3 separate regions of the Homo sapiens genome follow, and all the other regions are linked to region 3. The links are contacts of gene promoters, found by promoter capture Hi-C in blood cells and fetal thymus (Javierre and others, 2016). All regions are on one chromosome and are shown on one strand. The core of a region is centred on a gene start or on the middle of the fragment in contact, and the rest is flanking DNA. Distances in the headings are between cores, read along the strand shown. Region 1 overlaps ANKS6 (ankyrin repeat and sterile alpha motif domain containing 6). Region 2 holds the start of GALNT12 (polypeptide N-acetylgalactosaminyltransferase 12). Region 3 holds the start of TRIM14 (tripartite motif containing 14).

What was found. Contacts are between HindIII fragments. The CHiCAGO score rates a contact against its expected background, and 5 or more counts as called.
Region 1: a contact is called between a fragment that was not itself captured here and the fragment with the promoter of TRIM14 in region 3, in 2 of 17 cell types (endothelial precursors and erythroblasts). The highest score is 6.4, in endothelial precursors.
Region 2: a contact is called between a fragment that was not itself captured here and the fragment with the promoter of TRIM14 in region 3, in 2 of 17 cell types (naive CD8 T cells and megakaryocytes). The highest score is 6.7, in naive CD8 T cells.

The regions. Positions count from the first base shown.
Region 1 is chr9:98,761,429-98,764,128 of GRCh38, reverse strand. The region is part of intron 11 of ANKS6 (ankyrin repeat and sterile alpha motif domain containing 6); the gene reads left to right. Among named protein-coding and RNA genes, the nearest start is that of ANKS6, 34 kb to the left of the region's middle. The HindIII fragment of the contact is 1,517 bases long and covers 572-2,088 here.
Region 2 is chr9:98,805,228-98,807,927 of GRCh38, reverse strand. GALNT12 (polypeptide N-acetylgalactosaminyltransferase 12) reads right to left here and starts at 258. Exons shown (of 10, transcript NM_024642.5): 1 at 1-258. The coding sequence starts at 229. It overlaps LOC124902229 (a long non-coding RNA gene), which reads left to right and starts at 348. Exons shown (of 2, transcript XR_007061689.1): 1 at 348-1,157. RefSeq lists silencers at 117-186, 287-376. The HindIII fragment of the contact is 202 bases long and covers 1,290-1,491 here.
Region 3 is chr9:98,117,857-98,120,556 of GRCh38, reverse strand. TRIM14 (tripartite motif containing 14) reads left to right here and starts at 1,335. Exons shown (of 6, transcript NM_014788.4): 1 at 1,335-1,575. The coding sequence starts at 1,369. RefSeq lists a silencer at 1,402-1,501 and an enhancer at 1,812-1,861. The HindIII fragment of the contact is 4,863 bases long and covers 1-2,700 here.

The DNA.
Region 1 (2,700 bases), core at 81-2,580, 640 kb before region 3:
GGCTCATAAAATGAATTGGGAAGTATTGTCTCCTCTTCTAGTTTTCTAGAAGATACTGTGTAGAATTCTTATTACCTTTTCCTTAGATGTTTGATAAAATTTGCCAGGGAAACCATTTGGGCCTGCCGTTTTCTCTTTTGGAAGGTTTTAACTTACAGAATGAATTTCATTAATAGATATAGGACTATTCAGGTGTTCTATTTCTACTTGGGTGAGTTTTTGTACTTTGTATCTTTCAAGGAATTATTCCCTTTTATCTAAGTTGTTGAATTTATGGATATACAGTTGTTAGTAGTATGTATCTATTACTATTTTATTACATAGGATCAGTAGGAATGTCTCCTTTTTCATTCCTCTATTGGTAATTTGTGACTTCTCTCTTTTTTTCTTAATCAGTTTGGCTAGAAGTTTATCAATTTTATTGATGTTTTCAAAGAACCAACTTTGGTTTTATTGATTTTCTCTGTTTTTCTGTTTTCAATTTAATTGATTTCTGCTCTTATCTATAATTTCTTTCCCTCTACTTCCTTTGGGTTTTATCTTCTTTCTCTAGTTCCTTATGGTGGAAGCTTAGATTACAGTTTAGAGATCTTTCTTTTTTTCTAATACAGATATTTAATGCTATAAATTTACCTCTATGTGATGCTTTTTCTACATCCCACAAATTTTGATATATTTTAATTTTAATTCCATTCAAAATATTTTCCCCTTCTCTTGAGATTTCCTCTTTGGCCCATTGATTATTTAGAAATGTATTGTTTATTTTTCAATTATTTGTTAGTTTTCCAGAAATCTTTCTGTTTTTGGGGATTTCAGTTTAATTTGATTATAGTTCTGTTTCTAGTTCTATCCCTTTAAATGTTTTGAGGTCTATTTTGTGCCCTAGAATGTGATCTCTTTTGGTGAATTTCTCATAGGCAATTGGAAAGAAAGTGCATTCTGTTGTTATTGTTGGGGGAGAGGAGTTCTATAAATGTCCATAAATGTATAATTAAGTCTAGTTGGTTGTTACTGTTGTTCATGTCTTCTATATTCTTACTGATTTTCTCTCTACTTGTTCTACTAATTACTGAGAGAGGAATTTTAAAGTGTCCAACTATAACTGCAGTTTGGTCTATTTCTCCTTTCAGTTCTGTTGGTTTTTGCCTCACGAGCTGTGTACACATTTAGGATTGCATGTCTTGGAGAATTGACCCCTATGTTATTATATTATTATAGAAAATCCCTAAGATTTTCTTTTCTCCTAAGATTGGGAACAAGGATGCATTTTTATGACTAACATGAAAAGAAAAATGACAGACCAGTAGCCCTCATGAATATAAATATAAAAATCCTTCACAAAATATGAGCAAATCTAATCCCATGATTAAATACAAAGTATAATACCTTCTGACCAAGTGGGGTTCATCCCAGGAAGGCAAATCTGGTTCACCATTATAAAATCAATCATTAGCCTTCACCGTATGAACAGACTAAAGAATATGCAGAAAAAGCACTTAACAAAATTTAAAATCCATTCATCATTAAAACTCTCAACAAACTAGGAATTGAGGGAAACCTCCTGAATCTGACATAAAACACATATAGCCAGGATTATACTTGATGGTTAAGGATTGTTTTCCTCCTAAGACTGGGAACAAGGATGTTGTCTCTTACCTCCAACTGTCAACTTTGTACCAAATACTATGGCTAGTACAATAAGGCAAGAAAAATAAAAGGCATACAGATGGGAAAGGAAGAAACAAAACTATATCTGTTCTTAGATGACATGACTGTCCACATAGAAAACTGCAAAGAATCTACACAAAAGCTCTTAGGATGAATAAGTGAGTCCAGCAAAGTCTCAGGATACAATACGGGTCAATATCCAGAAGTCAGCTGTATTTCTCTACAGTAGTAATAAACATTTAGCATTAGGACATTTAGAATGTTTTTAATTTGAAATTTTAAAAATATAATACATTTAACATGTATGAAATTGAAGTTATGTGAAAATGTATTATATGGAATATAATATAATACTTAGGTATAAATCTAATATGTGTGGAATCAAAAGGTCAAAAACTACAAAACACTGATAAAGAAGCTTAAATAAATGAAGAGATGGAAGGCTTGTGATTATGAAGATACCAATTCTCTGCAATTTGATCTACAGATTAAATGTAATCCCAGTCAAAATCCCAGCAAGCTCTTTTTGTAGAGATCTAGAAACTGATTATAAATTTTATATTGAGGTACAAAAAATTATAATAGTCATATGAAAAAGAATAAAGTTGGCAGGCTCACACTGCCTAATTTCAAGACTTACCATAAAGCTCCAGTGTGGTATTAGCAAAAGGGCAGACAAATAGATCAGTGGAACAAAAGAGAGAGCCCAAAAATAGACCCGCACAAGAAAAGCCAAATAAATTCTTTTTTTAAAGGTACAAAGGCAATTCAGTGGAGAAAGGGTAGTCTTTTCAATGAAGAGTGCTGGAACAATTGGATGTCCATATTGCAAGAAAAGGAACCTCCACGTGTATCTCACAGTGCCAAAAGCATGATACATAAAAGAAAAAATTGGCAAATTTGGACTTAATCAGAACTCAAATCTTTTGCCTGGTAAAAGATACCATTAAGAAAATGAAAAGTCATGCCACAGACTAGGAGAGAATATTTTCAAATCATAGATCTGGAAAAAGTTTTTTATCCAGGAGCCAG
Region 2 (2,700 bases), core at 141-2,640, 690 kb before region 3:
CGCCCAGCGCGTTCGCCGGCACCGGCGGCCGCGGCATGACCGGCTCGCGCCGCCCGGGGCGCGGGGTGCGCGGGGGTCCCGGCTCGGCAGCCCCGGCCCCGGCCCCACGCTGCGCCCGCAGCACCGAGCCCAGCCCGGCCAACGCCAGTAGCGCCAGGAGCACCAACAGCGCCTCCCGGCCGCGCCGCAGTTCCCGCGGGCAGCGCCGCCGCGCCGTGCGCCCCCACATGCGCCCGCCAACTGCAGCCAGCGATCTGCGCGCCCCAAGGCGGCGGTGGAGGCCAGGACCCGGATCCCGGAACCGCCGTGCCGCCCCGCCCCCGGCCCGCCCCACCTGCGCGCCGCCCCCTTTCCGTCCAGCCCCGCGCCAGCCCAAGCGCAGCCCCCGGGGTGGCTCATTTCGGCAGGGTCTTCAAGTGGGCTGGCTGAGACTTGCATCTTCCTTCTTGGGCTATGGTGCATTATTAAAGAGATAGTGGTGGTAAAACCCTTAGCGCCTGGCATATTGTAGGCGCTAAGTGTTGGCTGAATACACCCTGCAGGGTGTTATGAATTCTACTGCCATTATCTCATCTGATCTTTACACAGTCCAATAAAACAACCATCAACTAGGATTACGAGCTCCCTTTTACAGATGAGGAGATGGAGGTGCGATGAGATCAACAGACACCACGCTGCCCCACTGACTTCTGCAGGCCCAGCCTCTGCCATACTCTTTGGAGTCCTTGAATAGCAAACCCTCGCCTGGCTCGCCTCGTGATAGCTCTGTGACCTCTGAGGCTAGGAGCAAAAGGCCATGAAGGCTGTACATGATAGTTCACACCTGTAATCCCAGGCCGAGATAGGAGGATCACTTGAAGCCAGGAGCTTAAAACGAGACTGGTCAACATAGCAAGACTCCCATCTCTACAGAAAAATTTCAGAATTAGCCATGCATGGTGGCACGTGCCTATAGTGCCAGCTACTCAGGATGCTGAAGCAGGAGGATTGTGTGAGCCCAGGAATTGGAGGTTACCGTGAACTATGCGCCACTGCGCTGCAGCCTGGATGACAAAGCGAGATCCTGTTTCTATTAAACAACAACCAAAAAAGGCCATGAAGCTGCCGCCCTGTTCATGAGATCACTGCTGTGGGAGCCTTGAGCTGCCAGGGACGAAGTAAGTCTAATGGAGTAGACAAATATTAAAAAGATAATTAGAATTGTGTTAAGTATTTTGAAGAAGAATTACAGGGCGCTAAAAGGGCTTAGAATAGTAGAACTTGATCTAGTTTGGGGGTTTTGGAAAGCTTCTCTGATGAAGTAATGTCTACACAGATATCTGAATGTAAAAGTGATAGCAGAGATTTCAAATCATATCTTAAATTAATCTGGAACTCCCTCTGCTGGTGTCTAGCTCAGGGAAAAGAATCATTCTGTATCCCCTGTAGAAGGATAGAGTGTAAGCTCTATTTGTTGTTGTTTGTTTTACCATGGGAAGTTGGTCCAAAGCTTTTTATCAAATATTCTCAAGGAGACCAGAAGCCCAGAAAGTTTAAAAAGCACAAATCTGGTCCAATTATCTCATTGATAAATGCGGGGTCTGAGACACAGGGTGGGGAGAGGACCTTGAACTTGGCGGCTCAGGTAGAGGTAGAATCTGACTTGCTGTTGTCTTCATACAGCCTTTGGCTACTGGTATCCCCAGAGGAAATCTCCCTCAGGTTGCAGGAGGGGGGTGGGTTTTGGGATGAACCATGCAAAGCAGCTCCCACTCAGGACAACCTGCTGCTAATATTAGACTAGAGGGAAGTGGCTCTTCCCACAGTGCTCAGGGCCCCGCCTGCTTCCCACGCAGAATGGAGGCTGCTGGTTAATGCCAGAAGGCGGTTGTGTTAGGTAGGTCTGGACCTGAGCCCTTTGGCCTCTGTTCAGACACCCAACACATTTAAGATCTGCGGTCAGATTAGAAAACAGACAAGGATTACAATTCATAATGTCTTGGATCCGCTTGCCAAATTGGAATGCTTCTCAATAGAGGTTCAGATACAGAGAAAAGAGAAATGCAATTAGGCCTTACAAGACATGGACTTAAGCCCCAGGTAACAGATAAAAGCTATTGTTTACTGAGCACACACTGTGTGCTGTAAACTGCTGGACTTTCTTTTTCATGTACTTTCTCATTTCACCCTATGACAACCTTGCAAGGTTGACAGATGAGAATATGTAGGCTCAAGAAGTGAAGCAACTTGCCCAAGGTTACACAACATGCAAGCGGTAGAGGGAGGATTTGTATCTGGGTCTCCTGACTCACAGTCCAGGATTTCCCACCACACCACTCACTGTTGGGCAGGCTGCAATGAGATGCAAAGGCAGCTTAGCTTAGGAGGTCGGAACACAACCTTGGAGCCCACTTGCCTGAGCTCAACCCAGCCCCATCACGAATTGCAGTGTGACCTCAGGCAAGTTGCTTTACTTATCTCGGCTCAATTTGCTCATCTATTAAATGGTGATCTAATGATAGCACCACCTGAACAGGGTTGTTGAGAAGATTGAGTGATACAGTCTGCACAGTCAGCCTCCCGGGGCACAAAACAGAGTGGAGAGAGTGTCAGTAAGGCAAAGGGAAGATGTCCAGCACCTTGCTGAGTGAAGTATGATATTTAGACCAGAAGCATTGGTACCACCTGGGAGCTTGTTGGAAATCTAGCATCTTTTCAACA
Region 3 (2,700 bases), core at 86-2,585:
TTGGGGTGGTGGTGTGTGTGTGAAAGTTGTCAGTACCAAAACAGAGTCACTTACATCAAAACCAAACTAAATGGTGCTCCTGTAGTCCCAGCTACTCCAGAGATGAGGTGGGAAGATCACTTGAGCCCAGGAGTTAGAGGCTGCAGTGAGCTATGATCGCACTATTGCACTCCAGCCTGGGCAACAGAGCGAGATCCTGTCTCAAACAAACTAAATGGTGCTGGGAGGCCATGAAGTGGGGGGCCCTCATCAACGATTTGCCTGGTAACAGGAACTATTATTGCAAAAGATTCCACCAAACTGCAACCTTGCACAAAGAACCACAACCTTGCACAAAAGCCATGATATGAGGACATCTGCCCAGCAACTGCCTGTTCAACTTTTGGACTGAAGCCACCTGTATTAATTCTTGTAACCAAGTATTATTATTTTAAAACGATCTGGCCGGGCGCGGTGGATCACGCCTGTAATCCCAGCACTTTGGGAGGCCGAGGCGGGCAGATCACGGGGTCAGGAGATCGAGACCATCCTGGCTAAAACAGTGAAACCCCTTTTCTACTAAAAATACAAAAAATTAGCCGGGCGTGGTGGCGGGCGCCTGTAGTTCCAGCTACTCGGGAGGCTGAAGCAGGAGAATGGCGTGAACCCGGGAGGCGGAGCTTGCAGTGAGCAGAGATGGCGCCACTGCACTCCAGCCTGGGCGACAGACCGAGACTCCGTCTCCAAAAAAAAAAAAAAAAAAAAAAAACAAAAACAAACAAACAAACAAAAAAAACAGTATATGCAATCCTCCTCGTTTTGCCTTTAAAAGCCTCTGCTTTCCTTTGCCTCCCTGAGTACTCCGCGTCCCCACCCCTTGGGTGCCATGGCACATTTATTCCCGAATTGCAATCCTTCTGCTCAGTCCGAAATAAACTCAATTGGAGAATCTCTGTGTCCTTATTTGAGGTTGATGAAGGTATCTTACAGTTGTGGGAATGATTATCTTTCCGGGGAAAAGGGCAAGAGAGGATCAAGGGAAAGTGAGAGGAGCACCCCCGGAAGGTCACAGCCAACTTTGGTCCCATCATCAGGGCTGCAGTTTTCTGGGCGTTACTGGAACAGCGTCATTAAGCAGGAAGCCCACCCTCTCCTAGCTGGCTCATTAGGAGCTTCCCATTTCTGGTGGGACCACCTCCCGGCCTGGGCGGGCAGAGGGAGCACCCTGCTGGTCGGAGGATGCTCCGAGGCCCGACGCTGCTCCCGGCGGGCTGTCATCCTCCTAGGGGTCGGCCGGCCGGCCTGGAGCCGCCCCGCCCACGGCCGAGGTTTCGGTTTCCCTTGGGAGCCCCGCCCTGTGTCCCGGGGAGCCGGAGGAGGTGGAGATGAATGGCGGGCGCGGCGACCGGGAGCCGGACCCCTGGGAGGTCGGAGCTTGTCGAGGGATGCGGCTGGCGCTGCCCGGAGCATGGCGACCGCGTGGCTGAGCTCTTCTGTCGCCGCTGCCGCCGCTGCGTGTGCGCGCTTTGCCCGGTGCTGGGCGCGCACCGTGGCCACCCTGTGGGCCTGGCGCTGGAGGCAGCGGTGCACGTGCAGGTGGGGACGATGGGGACGGGGTTCGCCGCGCGGGAGTTGGGGGAGCCAGCCCAGGCATAACGGCCGAGGAGGGGGCGTGCCTGGCCGTGGCCAGTGGCGGGTTACAACCTGGAAACCAAAGGTGCCCCAGAGGGCGTCTAAGCGGTCGACCGAAAGTTCAGAGCGGGAGCCTGAGACCCAAGGAAGGGCAAAGGCGAGCCAAAGCCATCAGTTGAGCTTCAGAAAAGGTGGGTTTAGGAGTGAGAGGTTGGGAGCCCAGGCTGGTACCCAGATGTCCTTGACCGTGTCCACCATGGCCGATCCGCCACACTGCCATTGGGCTGGAAGACAGTCTGCCTTTTAGTTAACAGAGGTACAAACTCTCCCTCTTAATAAACAGCCCTGTGTAGCTCAGAAAGCCACACAGACATCTCAGGTTTACTTAATCTGCAGTCCACAGAAAGGGCCTGTGAACTTTGAGCTGAGGACGGCCTGACTGCCCTGGGAGCAGCCTCAGCTGTCACTACCTACCTCCTCTCCCCTCCCCGGCCACACAGACACTCCCATTCCTGCTCATAGCAGCCCTGGGTGAGCCATTATTATTACAGCCATTTTATAGGCCACAAGAGGAAGGCTCTGGAGGCAGGGGCAGGCCTTGAACCCAGGACTCCATTAGCCAGATGCCCCCAACAGGGCCATTGTCACCGTGGAACCCTTACCCATGCATAATCCTAACAGTGCCCCAGGGGCTCTGGGCTCCTGCTCCAGCTTCCCAGCTGACTTTTTCTGTGGCTTCTCTCAAATCCTTCTCTCTCTCTGGGTTTCATGAAGCCTGGGTGAGGTAGGCCCTCATGTCTGACAGCTGTTGATCCTACCACTTGTCTCCAAGAAGTCTTCTGTGATGAATTCAGCCCCATCGTGAGCCTTTCTCCGGTACTGCATGACTCCAGACCACCACACTGTGACAACCTTGGAACTCCAAGGTGAAAAGGGGATCATGGGGGACAATCCAGTGGAGTCGTGGGCTCAAGACCTGTCCCTGCCACCAGACCCTTCCTTTTTTTAACGTATGAAATGGCTGTAATTATAATAATGGCTCCTTGAAAAACTGTTATTCAGAATTAACAAGGCTGCTTTCCACAGATC